3 separate regions of the Homo sapiens genome follow, and all the other regions are linked to region 1. Evidence: promoter capture Hi-C in human tissues and cell types (Jung and others, 2019). All regions are on one chromosome and are shown on one strand. The core of a region is centred on a gene start or on the middle of the fragment in contact, and the rest is flanking DNA. Distances in the headings are between cores, read along the strand shown.

What was found. Contacts are between HindIII fragments. The study calls those that stand out against the background at their distance.
Region 2: a fragment that was not itself captured here is called in contact with the fragment with the promoter of COG1 in region 1 in 2 of the 25 tissues and cell types used here (IMR-90 fibroblasts and dorsolateral prefrontal cortex).
Region 3: a fragment that was not itself captured here is called in contact with the fragment with the promoter of COG1 in region 1 in 1 of the 25 tissues and cell types used here (hippocampus).

What each region holds. Positions count from the first base shown.
Region 1 is chr17:73,190,958-73,194,593 of GRCh38, forward strand. COG1 (component of oligomeric golgi complex 1) reads left to right here and starts at 2,098. Exons shown (of 14, transcript NM_018714.3): 1 at 2,098-2,427. The coding sequence starts at 2,113. RefSeq lists enhancers at 1,325-2,084, 1,370-1,419, 2,050-2,329 and a silencer at 2,380-2,589. The HindIII fragment of the contact is 14,916 bases long and covers 1-3,636 here.
Region 2 is chr17:72,629,080-72,633,133 of GRCh38, forward strand. All of the region lies in intron 2 of LINC00511 (long intergenic non-protein coding RNA 511), which reads right to left. LOC107985005 (a long non-coding RNA gene) reads left to right here and starts at 553. Exons shown (of 3, transcript XR_001752991.2): 1 at 553-902. The HindIII fragment of the contact is 4,687 bases long and covers 1-3,972 here.
Region 3 is chr17:72,538,518-72,542,510 of GRCh38, forward strand. The region is part of intron 1 of LINC00673 (long intergenic non-protein coding RNA 673); the gene reads right to left. Among named protein-coding and RNA genes, the nearest start is that of LINC00673, 52 kb to the right of the region's middle. RefSeq lists a silencer at 1,836-2,085. The HindIII fragment of the contact is 3,812 bases long and covers 241-3,993 here.

The sequences.
Region 1 (3,636 bases), core at 848-3,347:
CCCGGCTAATTTTCTTTTTCTTTTTTTTTTTGAGACGGAGCCTCACTCTGTCGCTCAGGCTGGAGTGCAGTGTCTCGATCTCGGCTCACTGCAACCTCCGTCTCCCAGGTTCAAGTGATTCTCCTGCCTCAGCTTCCTGTCTGCTGCCTCAGCCTCCCGAGTAGCTGGGATTATAGATGTGCGCCACCACGCCCAGCTAATTTTTGTATTTTTAGTAGAGACAGGGTATCACCATGTTGGCCAGGCTGGTCTCGAACTCCTGACCTCATGTGATCCGCCTGCCTCGGCCTCCCAAAGTGCTGGGATTACAGGCATGAGCCACCCGGCGCGCGCCCCTTTTTTTGTATTTTTTTGTAAGGACGGGGTTTGGCCGTGTTGCCCAGGCTGGTCTTGAACTCCTGGGCTCAAGGGATCCACACGCCTTGGGCTCCCAAAGTGCTGGGATTACAGCCTGCTTCTTAATGTCACTAACTCTTCACCCAAGTCCTAGGCGCTTGTGCCTGCTGTGCCAGTCCCAGGCCGCAGGCTGGCACCGTAGCTATAAAGGGCGCCAGAAAAAAAGATTTTGCTAGATAGCGATGAATTCCCCAATCACAGAAAGGAGATACTGCGGATGCTTATCAGCCGAATACCAGTAAGTGTCCCTTGCAGAATGGGATTAGAGACTGCAAACTGCAGGCCTGCCAACAGAGGGTGCTCTGTGGGAAATTATGTGAAAACGTAGAAAAGAGCGCGAGCCAGTAATTTAAAAATCGACGTCCAAATACTCACTGGGTCACCTATCAGCTATGTAATTTGGGCAGGTAAATAAGCTTTTGTTTCTTTTTTTTTTTTCCTCATAAATGGACTAGGAATATTACTCCTACCTACCTGGCATGGCCGATGTGCGAGAAAATGAGATAATCTCGTGGACAGGCTCTGAAAACTGCACTTTTACTGAGTAAAAAACCCTTTGCCTCTCCGGGCCCCCGTTTCCCCATCTGTAAAATGAGTCTGTAAAGTGAGAATGATACTCCCTACGCCGCAAGGCTCTTGCGGGTTAAACTGGAATATTATAAATGCACCATTTATTTGCAGATTGAAATTCTGTGCGTCCGGAGGTGGCGGGTGGGAGAGGGAATGAGCAGGGATGCAGGGTAGGCCCTGAGTTGCTGGGGGCTCAGCATGGCCGCTGCGCACATTGCATCATTTTGTCGACACTGGTGTGGGTGAAATCTTCCAAAAGAAATTAAAACAGAAAAAAAAAAAAAGAAGGGTCTGGGACTTAGCAGAAACAAGCCACAATCTCCAGATTCTACTATTCCTGGGCCACGTGAGGAGCGCCCACCCGTCTGGCGCTGCGTTCCCCGGGGCGTCCCAGCCTCTCCCGCCCAGCCCGCCGCCCTCCTCCCCCATGGCCACCAAGGTCAGGCTCTCGCAGGGAAAACGTCTTCAGGGGCTAAACATCGGTTTTAAACGAAATGGAAAACCTCCAACACGAATCAACAGCAGAGGAAAAGCAGACGCCAAACAAGCGCTCAGAACCCCTTCAGGGGCGGCGTGGTAGCTCTTCCCGGGGAACAGCGAGGGGCGCGGATGTCCCTCTTCCTAAAACTGCACGCGGGGTGCGATCCGAGACCCAGCGGCGGCGAGCGCGCCCGAGTCTGCTCGCGGGCGCCAGGCGCGCGGAGAGCGGCGGCTGCGCCTGCGCCAACGCCGTCAGTCCGCGGGGCCCGATCCCGACACCTAACTCCACAGAGAAGCTCTGCTCCTAAGGGAAAGGGAAGACTTCAGCCACAGTTTCGCAGCCAACCTGGCGACCTCACCTCTCTGGCGACCTCACTTCCCAGCCGGCTCCGTTTAAGAAAACCCCGCGCAGGACCGCGCCCGCCCCCGCGCCCGCGCCCGCCCCCGCCCCCTCGCGCCCGCCCCCTCGCGCCCGCCCCCTCGCGCCCGCCCCCTCGCGCCCGCCCCCTCGCGCCCGCCCCCTCGCGCCCGCCCCCTCGCGCCCGCCCCCTCGGGTAACAAACATGGCCCCCGGCGGGGCGGAAGCGCTTCCGCCCCCAACGAAGATGGCGGAGGGGGCGGGACTAAAAGGGCGTAGGTAGATCGCCGGGGGCTGACGAGTGCACCATGGCCACCGCGGCAACCTCACCCGCGCTGAAGCGGCTGGATCTGCGCGACCCTGCGGCTCTTTTCGAGACGCATGGAGCGGAGGAGATCCGCGGGCTGGAGCGCCAGGTTCGGGCCGAGATCGAGCACAAGAAGGAGGAGCTGCGGCAGATGGTGGGCGAACGGTACCGCGACCTGATCGAGGCGGCCGACACCATCGGCCAGATGCGCCGCTGCGCCGTGGGGCTAGTGGACGCCGTGAAGGCCACCGACCAGTACTGCGCCCGCCTCCGCCAGGCCGGCTCGGCCGCGCCCCGGCCACCGCGGGCCCAGCAGGTCAGTCCCCGTGCCCCCACCCTGCGACCCGCAGGCGGGTCCCGGAGCCCCTGGCCTTGCAGGTCAACCCCGCCCCCCTCTGTCAGTCCCAGACCCCGCGAGTCCTCACCTTCCTTAGCCAGGAGCCTATCCGCCCCTCACCCTTTGGGCCCCCCTCAGAGGACAGTGCCAGCCTTCCTTGCACATATGCGGCTGCTGATCCGTTCTGGAAATGCCATTCAACAGTTTCTTCAGGCGCTTTCCCCCGACTTCCGGGCCTTGATTCCTACACCTCACTGGGCTCCTTTCAATTTTAGCGGAAAACGCCAGGAGTTTCTGTCTTGACAGTTCAACGCTCACCTATATAACATGTCCTGACATTGTTTTTCCTCAGGTTTCTCCCCTATGTTGACACCTGCACTCCAAGTCATTTCTTCCTCATCCCAACCTTCCCCTTATCTCCCCAAGAATAACTTCCACAACCCCAAATAGCTGTTCTACCCTTTGGGAGTTGTTGAGGGTACCAGCTATCAAGCCCTTAACTTTATGTATGTATGTGACAGGGTCTCCCAAAGTGCTGGGATTACAGTCATGAGCCACCACAGCCGGCCAAGCCCTTACCTTTTAATAGCTGAACATTTTCATTTTCAGAACTAAGGCTTTTTTCATTCAGGTTCTCCTTATCCCGTGTTCTTCCCCCCAAACGCTATTGATTAGACACAATGAGGAAGGATGGGAGGTAAACAAACACATCCTCATATTGGAGCTGCAGCTTGCGTTCCTAAAGAATTTTTATTGGCCGGGTGCGGTGGCTCACGCCTGTAATCCCAGCACTTTGGGAGGCCGAGGCGGGTGGATCACGAGGTCAGGAGATCCAGACCATCCTGGCTAACACGGTGAAACCCCGTCTCTACTAAAAATACACAAAATTAGCCAGGCGTGGTGGCCGGCGCCTGTAGTCCCAGCTACCTGGGAGGCTGAGGCAGGAGAATGGCATGAACCCGGGAGGCGGAGCTTGCAGTGAGCCGAGATCGCGCCACTGCACTCCAGCCTGGGCCACAGAGCGAGACTCTGTCTCAAAAAAAAAAAAAAAAAGAATTTTTATTTCTTTATTTTTTGAGACAGGATCTCGCTCTGTCACCCAGGCTGGAGTGCAGTGGCGCGATCTCGGCTCACTGCAACCTCCGCCTCCCGGGTTCAAGCGATTCTCCTGCCTCAGCCACCCGCGTA
Region 2 (4,054 bases), core at 379-2,878, 560 kb before region 1:
TCAAAAAATTTTCCTCCACAGAAAACTATGGAAGGATATGCTCCATCAGAATGAGGGAGTAAATCAAGAAAAAGGAAGATTTGGGAGAGCCTGGCAGCAGAGTATTTCATTCAGGGATTGCCTAGGGTGGCATAAAACAGATCCATGAGCAAAGAGACATTTATTGTGCTCAAATACAAAAGTCCGGTGGGAGCAGTCACAACGCAACAGTTTCGTGATATCCCAATGTGCCCAGTGCTGACTGTCTGTCTTGTATTACCAAAGCTGGTGTACAGACTCCATCCTCATGCTTGCCTCATGGTGCTATGGTGGCTGTCCCATCTCTAGCTTTTCATCTGTATTCCAGGCAGGAAGAAGAATGCAGCAAATGAGAAAAGAACAGCCTCTACCTCAGAAAAACAAAACTTTCTTAGAAAAATTATCAGCAGGCTACTGCTTTTGTCTCCTTGGCCAGAATTGTGTCGCCCTGTAGCTACAATGGGCTGGGAAATACAGTTTTTAGGTTGGTATATTAGTTTCCTATTGCTGTTGTAATAAATAACCATGAAGAGTGGTTTAAAACAAAGCAAATGTATTATCTTACAGTTCTAGAGGTCAGAAGTCTGAAGTGGGTCTCACTGGGCTAAAATCAAGGTGTCCTTGGCAGGGCCAAGTGCTTTTCTGGAGGCTCCAGGGGAGAATTTGTTTTTTTATCTCTTCCAGCTTCTAGAGGCCACCTATTTTCCTTGACTCATGGCTCCTTCCTCTGTCTTCAAAGCTTGCAATGGCCAGTTGAGTCTTTCACACCTCGTACGACTCTGACTCACATTCTTCTGCCATCTTTTTCCATTTACAAGGACACTTGTGATTACATCTGTCTATTGGGAAAATCCAGGGTCACTTCCCCATCTCAAGGTCAGCTGGTAAGCAACCTTAATTCCATTTGCAACCTTGAATCCCCTTTGCCATGTAACATAAGACAATCACAGCTTTTGGGGATTAGAACACAGACATCTTTTTTGTTTTTATTTTTATTTTTAATAGAGATGGGGTCTCGCTTTGTCATCCAGGCTGGAGCACAGTAACGCAACTGTAGCTCACTGCAGCCTTAAACTCCCAGTCTCAAGCAATCCTCCCACTTTGGCCTCCTGAAGTGCTGGGATTACAGGGATGAGCCACTACATCCGGCCAGGACATAGACATTTTTAGGAGACCCTTATTCTGCCTACTATCTACTATACTGGGCATAGTAGATATAGTTGCAGCTTGGTATAAAATCTGGGTCATTTTACTTTTTTTGTTTGAGACGAAGTCTGGCTCTATCGACCAGGCTGGAGTGCAGTGGTGCCATCTTGACTCACTGCAATCTCTGCCTTCTGGGCTTGAGACATCCTTCCACCTCAGTCTCCCAGGTAGCTGGGACTACAGGCACACACCACCAGGCCCAGCTAATTTTTGTATTTTTTGTAGAGATGGGGGTTCACCATGTTGCCCAGGCTAGTCTTGAACTTGTGAGCTCAAGTGATTCACCTGTCTTAGCCTTCCAAAATACTGGGATTACAGGCATGAGCCACAGTCCCTGACCCGGGTCATTTTATTTAGTATGAAGGGAAGTGTGAATTTAGGCAGGCACACATGCTAAGGATTATGGAGTGGAAAGATGGGAGGAGGCAGGGGTCCCCAGTGGTACCACAGAGTCACTTCTCCAAACCCAGACTGAACCTCTGCTGTACTTCAAGTTACACGAGAGACATCTACCCTTATGTGGTTAAGCTGCTTTAGCAAGGCTAGAGTTCCATGAAGCCCAGTGTAAGCCCAAGGAAACTTTCACGTTTTCAGGTAAGAATTCAATAGATAATGTTTAAAACCAAAACAAGGAGAAATGCCAGGATGAGCATGGTATTGGGAAGTAGGAGGTAAATATCAAAAGAAACATCTAAGTCAGAATTTAAAGAGGTGCCCCCAGGGAGCAGATTCAGAGTTGGGGAAGTAGAGGGCAGAGCATGGCTGACTTCCTTCAAAAATGGTTTTCATGCCATTTGACTTACTAAACTTCATTTATCTGTTATTATGCCTAATGAAAATCAATTTTTAATTTAAAAGTGATGATAATAGTTTGGAGCACCTATAGCAATAAACTAGGACGTGCAAGAAAATGATCTACCCATGCAATTCCCCCAACCGGGCTGCATCAGGCTGGAAGGGTCATGAAATGGTTCCCACAGGGGCCACCGTGGAGCACAACCAGGAGGTGAGACACAGCCTTGGCACAACAGTGGTCCACATTTACCTTCCCCAGCGAGGGTCCTCAGCATCCTGCTAGCCCTCCTGAGCTACAAAGGACAGGAAGTTGGGGCAGATTTGTTTTCTTTCCCTAACAAGATCTTATTTTAGGAGCAGAGCTCAGAAGAGCAAACAGAGAAAAGAAAAGTCAGGGGCTGGTTTCAGGGAGAAGAGTGACCACGGGCCATTCCTTGGGCCATGTCTGCTTCTCTAAGCCTGGCCCTGGGGAACAAAACTTAGATCTTGATCATCCAGCATAGCTCTGGCATGCTGAGCGTGTGATACACCTGTCTCTACCGTCAGGCAAACGAGTGGGTTCACAGGCAGAGGCCTGCCCTGCCAAACAATGCTCCCCTTTGTCCCCGCCCAGGGCTCAGGAGCCGCAAGGAAGCCAAATCCATCAGCACTTGTCAGGGCCCTTGATGCACACAATGCAAGTTATGATCCACAGTCCCCGGCAAAGCCCCAGGCTTCCAGCAGGCAGCATTAACTGACACGCAATGTGTCAGTCAGCCTTCTAAAAGCCAGGGGTGGGGATCCGTGCCAGGGGGCCACTGAGCTCTCATTCCCAGAAGCCAACCAGAGCCAGTGAAGGGGCCGCAGAGACTCCGACACATCATTTTCATAAAAACAGCCCAAGGAGAGCATTGCATTAGGAAAAATCATTTCCCGTATTGGCAGCGGGCTCTTCTGATGGCTTTAGCAAATACCATACACACCGAAGCAGTGCAGTGCGCGCCCTTGGCTCATGTGCCCGACCGCATACGGGACAGACCAGGGATGAGGGAGACTGGAAGTATGAATTCCCAAATCAGACTCCCTACAAATGCAACACCGCCTGCAAAGGGTCGCCCCTCCTTCGTAGCCAGCAAGGTGGCAGGCTTTACAGAAGCAAGGGGATTTTGTGACCAAAAAGAACCTGGAAGCGGCCTCCATGGATGCTGCCAAGGTTATTGTGTGCACTTCTTGATGCATCCTGCAAACCACTCTGGGCTGTCCTATTCTGTTCGGTCACCTCCTCCCTGCCTCCACCCTCCCACCACGTGACTGCCAGTCACCAGGCCAGGAATATCACAAGCGTCTTCCTTGGGCAAACAACCGTTCCTCTGCAGACACCTAGACTGACCTTGGCACTCGACACAGAGGGAGGGGACAGAAGACGAGTGTGTGTTCAAAGTCTGCAGTCCCCTGGGGAGGGGTCACTGGCACCATCTGCCTTCGCTACCGGGGCAAGGCAAGTTCAGAGCTACAATTAGTGCTGATTCAGCCATGGTCCCTCGGTCTCATTCCCTAGGCTTCCCTACAAGCCTAATTATGGGCATGAAATGAGCTAGTGAATGAGTTTTCAGAAAAGCAAACGTTCCCTTAGAAATACAAAATATTTGAGCCAAATAATATCAAGTAAGATTTTGTTGTTTTTGGGCAAAGGTCACTGTTTAACTTAAAGGAAAGCAATAAAATATATGCAATATATAAATTCTATAAATTATAGTTATAGAGTAAATTATAGTAAATTTATACAGTAAATTATAGTTATATAGTAAATTATATAGTATCACTTCTTTTGGTGTGATAATGGTATTGGAGTCATGTAAAAAAGAATGCCATTCCTTCTCAAGATACATACTGACCTGTTTATGAATAAAATGACAAGATGTCTGTTTGTTTTTTTATATATTTTTTTTAATTTTTTGGGGGACGGAGTCTCAGTCTGTCACCCAGGCTGGAGTACAGTGGCACGATCTTGACTCACTGTAACCTCTGCCTCCCAGGTTCAAGCGATTCTCCTACC
Region 3 (3,993 bases), core at 897-3,396, 650 kb before region 1:
TTATCTCAACTAGACTTTACATCAACCCTATGACTTGGTAGGTATTTGCCCCATTTTACAGATAAGAAAACTGAGGCACAGAGTGTCCTGTGCATCCCCCAAGATCACAAAGCCAGGTAAGGGCAGAGCCAAGGTTTGAGCCCTGGCAGCTGTGGCTGCAGAGCGATGGGCCCACCGCTCTGTTCTGGGGCCTACCCCCGGCACAGCAGACCTGAACGTCCAGGCCTTTCCAGGGCTAGCACAGAGCCTGCATAGCTGCAGTGACTACAGTAGCTGTTTCCTTTGTCCTCGTCCCCTGCAGTTTCTTTCCAGAGTCCCAAGAAGCCACACAACCCTTCAGGAGGAGATTAGCAGCAGCAGAAAACAGAAATAAGAGAAAGTTAGTTTTCTTTTTCTGGGCTAGAGGTGCCCTGCTGCGCTGGAGAGAAACTGGGAGGAGGGAAAGCTAATGCCAGCCCCAGCCCGGTTTCTGCCCGCTGCCCTTTGCAGCTCTAGGTGGAAGCACAAGCTTGCTAGGCTCGGCACGCTCAGAGCTGCAGGAAGGCGGTCAGCTCTGGCAGCCACACTGCTCCTGTCCCAAAGGGAGGACAGACCTAGAGAAGCGGCCTGATCTGCCTTCTCCACCTCCGAATCCCCCCACCACACCCACACACACACACACACACACACACGCCTTTTGCATTTATCCCGGGGTCCTCCAGAGGGACAAGGAAGGGGCTGATTCAGTGACCCCTGAGCCCCGCCTCTCAGTCCCCAGACTTCAGGCAGCCTGGGAAGCCTCCGACCTACATTCAGATGCCTAGGGGTTCTGGGAGGGGCGCTCAAAGCTCAGAGGCCTGAATTCAGCACCCTGCTCAGGCTCTTTGAGAACCGCTGACTTGAAGTGGGCCTGCTCGCTTTGCTAAACAAATATGGGTAACTCTGGTCTTCCAAAAAGAGCTCACAATTCTGTCCTCCCTGGAAGCTACAATTCAATCATCCTCTTCCAAACGTCCAAATCCCAGCTTCAGTGAGGCTATCTCACACAGCAACCTGCCTGGGAGTGACCTGCATGCAAAACTTCAAGAGTTTGAGGGAAACTTGAGGGAAACTTGCAGAAACCAGCTTGCCAAGGAAAAACGCTCCCAGTGCGTTCAATGAAAAAGCAGGCGACCCAGCTAAATGAGTAAACTGACCCAATCGGGGGGATGAAAGGGAACGTATATCTATGCAATGACAATAAATCGTGGAAAGACATATTAAAATACAAAAGCCATTTCTAGACGCAAAATCATGGATGTGTTTTATTTGCTTCTTTGTGTTTTCTGGTATTTTTACAAAACTGCACTGCAGAATGTTTGGAATCAGATGAAAAGTTCATTTCTGAGAAGCCTCCTTCTTTTCTCTTTTAAATTTTCTTCTTTTGCATTCCATTTTGGCCAGCTCGCTTGAACTCTGCGTTCAAACGCCTTTCTCTCCCAAGCAAAAGCTCCAGGAGGAATCTTCTGGAGCAAAGTTAGAACCGCAGGGAAGCTTGAAAAGAGGAAACAGACCAGCCTGGCCGGTGGAGGTTAAATTAAACTACAGTTCTCTAGCAGGCCTCGGGCTTGGTCAGGAGCTATTGGTAAGACGGCAGAAACGGAGTACAGGCCAATAAACAAATCAAAACAAAAACAAGAAGCAAAGAAAGAAAGAAACATGTTTTAAGAAGAATAAAGTCATTAGGTGGCAAGGGGCCTCTGCAGGACCATCCAGGCCAGGGAGAAAAACACCACCAAGGACCCAAACTTCTTTCACTGGGGAGCTGCAAGCAGGAGGCGCTGGCTCTGAGCAGTGGCTTTGTGCTTCGGGCAGAACCGGCCGCGAGGGCTGCGCCCCACCAGCCGCGCGCCGGGAGGGCGGACGCGCCGGGCACAGCCAGGCGCCGGGGGTGACCGCGGCAGCACCGGCCCGGCGGCTGGAAGCAGACGCGCCGCTCCGCCCGCGCCCGCGCCCGGTGGAGCCACAGCGCCATCAAGTGGCCACTCGGCGAACGGCCGCACGGGGAAGCGGCTCAGGCCCAGGGAAGAGGTCCAGGGTTCCCAGCCGCAACTGTCCCTGGGGAAGGGTCTGGACCTGCCAAGCTGCCACTCCAGGGCCTGAGGCAGGAGCCTGCAGACGGACACCAGCTGTCCAGGCGCACTCCACCACCCAGGGCTGCCCCAGAGGATGTTCGGGAATCCTGTCTCCTCCTTCGGGAGAGAGGTTACTTTTGCAGTCCCAGGCCCATTCTCTTCTCCAGCAACTTGCTCACAGTTTAAAAGGTTTGGTTCTCAGAGAGTGGCGCCAGAGCAAAGGGGGCATCTCGCTGCTCTGGGGCATCCTGCAGGGGATGGCGCAGATCTGGGGTCCATGTCTGTGAGCGGACACCATTGGAACATGTGTCTAGAGAATCTGGGCGGGATCACTGCCCACAGCCCTTCAAGGCCCACAAACCTACAACACATCTCTCCTGGAAACAGCACGTGATCCCATATGCCCCCTGGTCTTTGGGTACAAATTATGGGGTGACTCAAGAAGAGAGCACGTGATATGGTTTGGCTGTTTGTTCCCTCCAAATCTCATACTGAAATGTGATCTCCGGTGTTGGAGGTGGGCCTAGTGGGAGGTGTTCGGATCATGGGGGTGGATTCCTCATGAATGGTTTGGTGCTATCTTCACAGTAACGAGTGAGTTCTCACTAGAACAGTTCATGTGAGCTTGGCATGGTGGCTCACACCTGTAATCCCAGTACTTTGGGAGGCCACGTCAGGTGGATCCCTGGAGGTCAGAAGTTCGAAACCAGCCTGGCCAACATGGTGAAACCCCATCTCTATTAAAAATACAAAAAAATTAGTTGGGCGCGGTGGCACGCACCTGTAGTCCCAGCTACTCGAGAGGCTTGAGGCAGGAGAACTGGTTGAACTTGGGAGATAGAGGTTGCAGTGAGCCAAGACTGTGCCGCTGCACTCTAGCCTGGGTGACAGAGCAAGACTCCATCTCAAAAAAAAAAAAAAAAAAAGAAAGAAAGAAAAGAGTTCATGTGAGATGTGATTGTTTAAAAGGGCCTGGTACCTTCCCCCATCTCTTGCTTTCCCTCTTGCCATGTAACATGCTGGTTCCCGTTTACCTTCTGCCATGATTGGAAGCTTCCTGGGGCCTCACCGGAAGCCAAGCAGATGCCAGGGCCATGCTTCCTGTACAGCCTGCTGAACCCTGAGCCAAATAAACCTCTTTTCATTACAAACTACCTAGGCTCAGATAGTCCTTTATAGCAATGCAAATGGACTAACACACCCCATGATCTCCATCCACAAACCACTGGAGGAACCCAACACAGCAACGGAAAAGTTCTCAGAGCACCAATCAGGAATATGCATATTAATATGAACACTATAACAGGAAATTACAGGAAAAGCATAGAGCGTTTGCTCTGTGCAAAGCACTGTGCGAATTCCTTCTGTACTTTATCTTCTTTAACCTTTACCACGACCTTAGGACATGAGTTTTTTATGATGTTTGTTTGTTTGTTTGTTTGTTTTTTACAGAAAAGGAAATGGAAGCACCCAGAGGTCCAAAAACTCACTCAAGGTTGCCTGGCCTGGAGTCAGAGCCTGAGAGCCAGCTCCTTCACTTACACTCCTTGATCCCATCTTTCCATCCATCCCCCAACCCCCAGCCGTAGGTGGATCCAGGTTTTGTGAGACCTGAAACATACATGTTTTCTAGAGGGAGAGGCAGCCTCTTTAAGATATGAAGTTGTAAATACACAGTTGAGGCCAGTCAGGGAGGGCTGTGTAGGGGAGGGGCTCTGCCTCATCTCCACAGTAGATCCACCCCTGCTCTTTAGACAGCCCCCTGCCCAGGAGCTGGCTTTCTGGAAACACTCCTCCGCATTGCCCCTCACAGCCATTTCTCTGGCTTCTGCAATTGACTTCCACGCCCACCCTGCCCCTGAAACTGCTCTGACTCAAGGTCACTCAATGACAGCCCAAC